3 separate regions of the Homo sapiens genome follow, and regions 2 and 3 are each linked to region 1. The links are contacts of gene promoters, found by promoter capture Hi-C in blood cells and fetal thymus (Javierre and others, 2016). All regions are on one chromosome and are shown on one strand. The core of a region is centred on a gene start or on the middle of the fragment in contact, and the rest is flanking DNA. Distances in the headings are between cores, read along the strand shown.

Evidence for each region. Contacts are between HindIII fragments. The CHiCAGO score rates a contact against its expected background, and 5 or more counts as called.
Region 2: a contact is called between a fragment that was not itself captured here and the fragment with the promoter of COQ7 in region 1, in 1 of 17 cell types (total CD4 T cells). The highest score is 6.4, in total CD4 T cells.
Region 3: a contact is called between the fragment with the promoter of GTF3C1 here and the fragment with the promoter of COQ7 in region 1, in 1 of 17 cell types (fetal thymus). The highest score is 8.2, in fetal thymus.

What each region holds. Positions count from the first base shown.
Region 1 is chr16:19,066,275-19,069,140 of GRCh38, forward strand. COQ7 (coenzyme Q7, hydroxylase) reads left to right here and starts at 1,340. Exons shown (of 6, transcript NM_016138.5): 1 at 1,340-1,463. The coding sequence starts at 1,391. It overlaps COQ7-DT (COQ7 divergent transcript), which reads right to left and starts at 1,417. Exons shown (of 3, transcript NR_119381.1): 1 at 1,307-1,417. RefSeq lists a silencer at 1,364-1,523 and an enhancer at 1,554-1,703. The HindIII fragment of the contact is 11,366 bases long and covers 1-2,866 here.
Region 2 is chr16:13,923,927-13,926,713 of GRCh38, forward strand. It overlaps ERCC4 (ERCC excision repair 4, endonuclease catalytic subunit), which reads left to right. Exons shown (of 11, transcript NM_005236.3): 3 at 2,635-2,787. It overlaps LOC105371093 (a long non-coding RNA gene), which reads right to left and starts at 2,680. Exons shown (of 4, transcript XR_007065000.1): 1 at 2,599-2,680. The HindIII fragment of the contact is 2,829 bases long and covers 1-2,731 here.
Region 3 is chr16:27,548,451-27,551,197 of GRCh38, forward strand. GTF3C1 (general transcription factor IIIC subunit 1) reads right to left here and starts at 1,463. Exons shown (of 37, transcript NM_001520.4): 1 at 1,220-1,463. The coding sequence starts at 1,440. It overlaps KATNIP (katanin interacting protein), which reads left to right and starts at 1,694. Exons shown (of 28, transcript NM_015202.5): 1 at 1,694-1,727. The coding sequence starts at 1,721. RefSeq lists enhancers at 1,360-1,439, 1,450-1,559. The HindIII fragment of the contact is 1,688 bases long and covers 389-2,076 here.

The DNA.
Region 1 (2,866 bases), core at 90-2,589:
GCCTGTGCGACAGAGTGAAACTCCATTTAAAAAGAACAAAAACAAAAAACAAAACAAAAAGGAAACAGAGACCTAGAAGTGGTATTACAGCAAAGGTTTTGAACATTTTAAGGCTTTTGAGCGCCAGATTCAGACACTCAGTAGTTTTACATGAGAGTGCTACAACATCCTCACTAAGTAGTATTTGGGTTCATCATAATTTTAAATTATTTTGGTGTGTCAATTTGAACACTAGAGTGATATAAAAACTAAAAACTTGAATTCAATAATTTTACAATTGTATTCCATCTTAAAATATTTTATGGTAAACTTGGATAAAGTATATAAATAATCCAAGGGTGTAAAGTAGAAAGTGAAAGCTCCCTTCTCCCAGTTCCAGCCCCCTGATGTTGCCAATATTAAACGTTGTATATCCTTGCAGACACGCATCTTTGATTTTTGCCCTCATGTACATTACTCATTTAAAAATTATTTCGTTGAGTAGATTCCTAAAAGTAAGACTGCTGTATTATATGATCTTTTTAAAGTATGTTGCTAAATTTCCCCTCCCTTCTCAAAAAATTCCAATTTGCACAAATATACATGCATACATGCACACAGTACATTAAGGTGGATACCAAGGATAAAACATGTTCTCTGTTTCTGAAAATAGAGAAAAGACCGGGAAGAAGTTTAAAGTTGGCTTTCAGCCCACCAATAGAGATAACACTATATAACACCATTAACCATGTGGTGCATGTAATTTAGATATACATATAATTTTATTTATTTATTTATTTTTCAGACAGGGCCCAGGCTAGAGTGCAGTGGCAGAATCACGGCTGACTGCAGCCTCGAGCTACCGGGCTCAAGCTATCCCCCCACCTCAGCCTCCCGAGTAGCTGGGACTACAGGTGTGCTCCACCAGACCCGGCTAATTTTTAAAATTATTTGTAGAGGCGGGGTCTCGCTATGTTGCCCAGGCTTACTATTTTAAAGTAGATGTAGGATACAAATAAAAAAAAAAATCTCCTTCCACGTAGGTAAAGCAGGAAATACCGTGCCTTGTTAATAAGTAATTCCCTCATGATCCTTTTCCCCAGGAACTTGGGTGAGAAATCATAACCTTGTCCTGATCTTTCTAAACAGCAATTTAGCATTTTCATCTCCCTGGCAACCCAAGGCGCCTTGGCCTTGGTCTTCCGAGTGATTGACAGTGACCCCACCCAATAAAATCTTTTTATTTGTCGTATCTAACCAATCTAACCCCTAGCGCAGAGCTAGGGGGCGTTCCCACCGGTGCGCGGGCGAGCTGAGCCTTCCTTACGTCTGCTGTGCGTCATCAGTCCGAGCCAAGGGCACTATTGGCCAGTTCCGTTCAACGAAGTGGTTGCTTTTTTTAGTTCCGGCAATGAGTTGCGCCGGGGCGGCGGCGGCTCCCCGCCTTTGGCGGCTGCGCCCGGGGGCCCGGCGGTCCCTCTCAGGTAAAAGGAGGCGCGCAGTCACAGTCCTGCGCCGGTCTAGCGAGCTAGGGAATTTTCGCTTGAGGTTTGGGTCGAAGAGGTCACGGGGGAGAGGTTCGTAACGTCACAGGCCTGCGACGGAGCGCGACTGCGTGACTTCGGCCTCCGGGGCGCTGGCGGGCGGGGCGGGGTCTGTAGTTAGCGGCGAGAGTGACAGGAGGACAGGGGTTGTTTCGGCAGTGACGCCTGGGGAGTGACGCAATTGCACCCCTGTGCAGTGATGTCACGGCAGGTGCGGCCAGCGTTCCGAGTCGAGGACAGTTGGCGACACTGAAAATTCAGCGTCTCCGGGAGTCTCTCTCTTTGTAGTCTTTGCCCAGGGCCTTGCCAGGCAAAGGGTAGCCCGACGACCAGCAGCCTCCGCTACTTCTGGGCGCTCGCTAGAAATACAGATTCTCGGGCCCCACCCCGACCTACTTGGTCGGTATCTGTGATCTGTGAACAGGACCTTTAGGTGATTTGCATGCACTGTAAACTGTGAAAGCCATCAGTGTAGTGGAAGGAGCATCGAATTTAGAGTAGAGAGACATGGTTTTGGACCCTGGTTCCTGCTTTCCTTGTTTCATCTGTGCTGCCTTAGAAAATTGTCATGAGCCCGGGCGCGGTGGCTCCGGCCTATAATCTCAGCACTTTGGGAGGCCGAGGCTGGAGGATCCCCTGAGGTCAGGAGTTTGAGACCAGCCTGGCCAACATGGTGAAACCCCGCCTCTACTAAAAATACAAAAATTTGCCAGGCGTGATGGCAGGTGCCTGTAATCCCAGCTACTCAGGAGGCTGAGACAGGAGAATCGCTTGAACCCGGGAGGCAGAGATTGCTTTGAGGCGAGATTGCACCACTGCACTGCAACCTGGGCGTCAGAGCGAGACTTTGTCTCCCCCGCGCAAAAAAAAAAAAAAAAAAGAAATTTCATGAAGTCGTTTTCTCAACGTTAAATTACCGTGTACCACTTTCGGGATTTTTGCCTAATGGCAGTACTGCTTGAACTTTTGATTACTAGATGTGTTTTTTTGTATAGCTATGTCCCATTTAAAAATTAAATTAATTTCCTTGAAACAAAATCCTTATGGTGAATGGGAAGCCAGTGCCACTTGCCACAAATGGGTGAGTAATCATTAAAAAAAAACAAACAAATTAAAAAGTTATGAAATTGTATTAAATACTGTCTTTCTGTTACAAAGGGGAAATTAGCAAGTGTTGGGAAAGTGTTAAGGCTATACCAGCTGTAAATGGAGTTATCTTCCTTAATGAAAGAGATTGCAAGAGATTTTGAAAGAGTACCCCTTACTACATGGGGTTATTTGCTGCATATCCATAAGCCACTTAATATTTTGTAGGTACCACACTGGCATGTTTCACACTTTGG
Region 2 (2,787 bases), core at 67-2,566, 5.1 Mb before region 1:
TACAGTGCAACCTAATTAGGCAGAGAGCAATGTGAATTTATGCAACGTTGAAGTCTGGCTTATCTGTAGCTCCTAATGAAAAATGCCAAATTCCCTCCTCCTTTCTGATCAAAGCCCACCGAATAATGAAGCTGGAGCTGTTACTGATGCTTGGCTGAGTGGAATGTAAATGAATGCCAAAAATGAATTCTTTTGAATTCTTTCATCCCCTGGGATCATCCCCCAGGACTGACCAAAGAGCAGTGCGTGAAGTGCAGGTAACCCTCTGGAAAGGCTGAATCCCCCAGCCCCAACTTCTTCACCTGTCACCACCCATTATTACCACCACACCCCACCCTGGGAATCCCTGCTAACCAGAACTCCTAACACGTGGGAGAACTATATAAATATCTGGTGAGGTTGTACCTTGAAAAGAACAGGACAGGAGGATGCTTTCATTGCCAAAACTGACCCTGACATCTCCAGACAGAACTAAGAACACACTTTCTGGGAAATATATATGTATTTTTCAGTTACACTTTTGATTTGTGTACCCAGTGCTGTGCCTCCACTTTATATTCATTCAACAAATATTTAACTCACTAAGGGTCCCTTGTTTGGCAGGAAGGGTGCTGAAGATAGACAGATGAATGGGACAGTATGGTGAACTCGTGAGTTAGACTGCTTCTGGGTTTGAGTTATCTTCATCTTGCACCAGCTGTGTATTTTTAGGCAAGTTTCTTAATTTCTCTATGCCTCAGCTTACTCACCCGTACATTGGTGATAAAGATAGTACCTTCCTCCTAGGATTGTCAGGGTGAAATGAAATGCTTATATGTAAAATACTTGGTAGCATGGCACATAGTCAGCATTCTATGATCTCTGTGATCTCTGCCTGTTGGTGTTACGATGTTCCTGTTCTCGGGCAGTTTAATGGAGGAGACAAGTAAAGAAGTAGTTATAGTACAGTATGGGTACAAAATGTCATAGGAACAAAAAAAACTAAAGTAGGCTTTTGTGGAGCTAAAACTCCTCCCAAAAACCTAACCTGCTTCTATTATTTTTATTTTTTGAAAAAGGAGTGTCTTGAGTTGGTGTGACTAAATAGGAATAACATGATTTTACACATGATTTGGAACCTTCGGCCTCCCACTTGCTTGCTGGATGACCTTGGTTAAGTTGCTTCCCTTCCTTGGTCTCATCATGATACCTACTGCATGGAATTATCATAACAATTAAATGAAATGAAAATCTATAGAAACACCTAACCCAGTTACCTGGGATGTAGTATCAGTTCTCTTCTTCCTCCTGGGTTCCAACCAAAATAAAGACAACTTTTTGGAGCGCAACATTTTCTTAAATTGAGTTTCTCCTTTTCTTTGGAAGTTCATTTTTATTATTCTTGACTCTACGTAATATTTCAATCCAGGCTAACAAAATGTGGCCTCTTAGAGTCCTTGGGAAAACCCACCAATTAGGTACAGAATATTTTCTGAGTAGTAAATTAGTTATGTACGTGTATTGGGGGGGTTATTGAAAATCCTTTGTCTATGAATTCCTAAATAACATTATTAATTTTTACTATATTTGGAAGATAATTTGCTGAGCTAGAGTAAATTTAGCTCCATCCACCTCTATCCAAAACTTAAACATTAAAATAGTAAAATCTGAGTTTAGTTTATTGAACTATTAGAAGGGTCATAAATCACTGTTAGTATTATTGTCCATACCCTTCCAGATATGAGAACTGGATCAAAAGCATGCAAGTACCATTATGCCAAATATATATAAGGTAACCAGCTTGATTTAGGTCTAAAAGACAGACTCGTCTTGGAGTAATTGTGGTTTTGATCTAGAAAGCATGTCTGTATGCCTTTATGTCATCTCATGTTTCTCCCTAACTTAGCACTAATCACACTGCATCAGATGACACAATATATATGAAAGATCTGGGTCAGTAGTCTCATTTCATAAATAACAAAGCATGTATAATTGTTCTTATTTTTGAGATGCTGAGGTGTTATAATCATGTACACCCCCAAAGACATGTATAAGTATGTCGATTGAAGGTTTTTGTTTTAAATGGACTAATTTACCTCTGAATTGACTATCTTCTGATTCTGAAAATTGAATTCATCTCATAGGTAATGTAGATGTTGCCCAGACTTCTAAAATGTGGCTATTTTGTATAGTCCACATCTGATTCATACATTAAAAAAAAAAAATTCATGACCTACTTTGCTTTCAGAAATTCTTCCTCTGACATGCCAGAAACACCCCACCCCAGGGCCTGTGCCCTCACTGTCCCCTCAGCCTGGCAGCCTGGAACTCTCTTGGCCCAGATGGTCACAAGGCTCCATCCAGCCTTTATTCAGATACCACCTTGGTGAGACCACCCCTCATACATACTCCCTCTCCTCCTTCTCTGATTCATTTTTTCTTCTCAGCACTTGTAGCATCCTAAATATTTTACGTATTTATATTGTTTATAGTCAATTCCTTGAGGACAGGGATTTATCTCTGTTCTGTGCGTGGCTATATGCCCAGTCTAGAATGGTGCTTATTCATTCTCTTGTAAGTACTTAAGAAAAATGTGATGAATGAATGGCAATTACCTACCTGTTCTGTAGTTTAAATTATGTTTCTCCCCCTCAGGCATCTTGGTGTATAGAGCCCACAGAATAATCGAGTCTTGTCAAGAAGCATTCATCTTGCGCCTCTTTCGCCAGAAAAACAAACGTGGTTTTATTAAAGCTTTCACAGACAATGCTGTTGCCTTTGATACTGGTTTTTGTCATGTGGAAAGAG
Region 3 (2,747 bases), core at 213-2,712, 8.5 Mb after region 1:
GAGATAGGGTTTCACCACGTTGGTCAGGCGGGTCTTGAACTGCCGACCTTGTGACCCATCCACCTCAGCCTCCCAAAGTACTGGGATTGCAGGCATGAGCTGCTGCACCCGGCCTGTCTTGGACATTATTACCTCTTGGAACCTCCCCTGACCCTCACAATATGGCTTAAGAGCACAGACGCTGAAAATAGCCTGGGTTCAAATCAATTCTTAGTCACTTATTGCCCCCAGAACCTTAGGTTACATAATCCCTCTCTGTGACTCAGTGTCTTCCTCTGTAAAATGAGGACGATAACAGCACCTACCTCATAGGTGAGGATCAAGTGAATTTAATCTCCTGTTTAACGGAGTTTAATCAAGTGAGGATCAAGTGAGTTTAAGCTCCTAAAGCTTCTAGAATAGATTCTTAGAACAGCAATGTGGCCGGGCGCCGTGGCTCACGCCTGTAATCACAGCACTTTGGGAGGCCGAGAGGTGCGGATTGTCTGAGGTCAGGAGTTCGCGACCAGCCTGGCCAACATGATGACACCCCATACCTACTAAAAATGCAAAAATTAGCCGGGCGTGGTGGAACATGCCTGTAATCCCAGTTACTCAGGAGGCTGAGGCACGAGAATCGCTTGAACCTGGGAGGCGGACGGAGGTTGCAGTGAGCCAAGATCGCGCCACTGCACTCCAGCCTGGGCCACAGAGAGAGACTCTATCTCAAAAAAGAAAAAAAAGAACAGCACCTCACCCATGAAGTCCCTGATAAATGTCAGCTTTTAGCATTATCGCTAATTGTCCTGATACGCAGATCTCGAGTTGCCCTAGGCTATCTGCACCGAATGAATATACCATGAGGGTCTGTTGATCTCAGGAGTCTCCAGTCTGGCTCTAAAGTGTCTTTCCTGCTCTAATCCTATCCTCCAATGTAAAGGAAACATTCTTTTAAGCCTGAAGAATATCCCCAATCCTGTTCGCCATTACCCCAAAACACACACAGGGACAAAACGGGACATCACTAGATTCTCCCCCTCCCCCCGCCAACTCCATCGGACTCCAGGGCCCTGCCAGGCCTGAGGGACCCCAGATTAGCCTTACCGCCGTGCCCCAACTCAATCAACAGGCCTCCGGTACTTGCACAGCCCCACTCCATTCCCCCGCCCTGCCCCCAGCTCCATCAGCCCCCGGGCCCTGCGCCCGCCCGCCCGCCCGCCAGGCCAGGCCGCCCGCTGACCGGTCCTGGAGCTGTAGGTCGGGTCGCTCCCGAGGCTCCTCATAGAAGCTGATGCCCGGGTGCGTGGCGAGGGCCCGCCAGAGAAACTCCTGCGTGCAGGGTTCCAAAGGCAGCGGGAAGGGCGGCACTCGCGTCTCCAGCCGGCTCCACAGCGCTGGCAGACACAGGCCATCGAGCCCCTCCAGAGCGACTTCGTCCAACAACGACTCCAGCGCGTCCATTGCTACTTCAGTCGGCGGCGCCCGGGGCGCATGCGCAACGCACCGCCAAGGGCCTTGGTCCATCGCGCCTGCGCACAACGATCCGGGGCCCGGGGAGGTGGGTCAGACCCAGGGTTCGGAGGAGGAGTTCCAGCGCGCCGGCATGACGTCACTCCCCGGGGGCGGGCTCAGTAAGTGGAGCTCCACCGTCATTGGTCCGGGGCCCCGCAGTAACCAGGGGAACTGCAAACAGTGTAGAGGCCGCTTCCGGTTCGAGCTCCCGGAACCGCCGCCTCTAGGGATGGACGGTGAGTGTCTGTGGGCCCCTCCGGGAGGTCGGGCTGTTATTCTCCCATCCCTCCCGACCGCGCTTTGGGCAGAATCCTAGGCCATGAACCCCTGGACCACCACTTCCTGACCCAAGGGGGTCTCCGAAATGAGGGATAGGGAGGCTTAGTGGTCTGGAACGCGGAGGAGAGCCTGGGGGAGTGGTCAGTGCTGTGACCATTCTGCTCGGCTGTGGTCGTGAAGGAAACCGGTACTGGCCGGGAGCTCAGTGAAGGGATGTAGGGTGGGGAAGGAGAAGTAGAGGTCTGAGGAGGGTCTTGTGAATGTTGGGATGTGGAACTGTCGGATTTGGGAGTTGATATGAAAACAAGCTTGATCGTGGGAGTGCAATCGTCAGGTGCTGGGAAAGGGAATTGGTGTGGGGGGTGAAGGGAGTTTAGGAAATACTCCCTTTCTGTGCCTTGGCGTTAATAATAATAGCTCCCTTTAACAAAGTGCTTTCCAGTACCAAGAACTCTGTAAGTACTCTTGGGCAACACCTCGCTAAGCTTCATACCAGCCTTTTGAGTTCAGCGTTGTTCCATTTTACAGATGATGAAACTGAGGCTCAGAGGTGTTAAGGAACTTGCCCAAAGTCAAACAACCAGCATGTAGCAGAGTGAGTGAGAAACCCAGACACCCTGTCTCTGGAGCTGAATTATGGAGCTTGAGATTTGGACCGGTTTTGAGGGTCCCTTTATTCCAGAGGTTGTAAATGCAGATGTCTGCAGAGGAGAGTCTAGTGAGCCGGATTGAGGCTGTAACTGAAAATCAATTCCTCACCTGAAAGGAAAGCTGCTCACCAAGCACCAGCTGATTGTCCTCTTGGGGTACTTCTCAAAAACAGGGTTGGCCAGTCACTCTGAAGGCCAGAGACAGCTTGTGGGCCCCCATTTAGGGATCCCTGATTAGAGTCATGGTATTGACAATTGGAAGCAAATGGAAAATAGGCTATTCTGATATCTCACTTTGCAGATGGGAAGACTAAAGTCTAGAGAGAC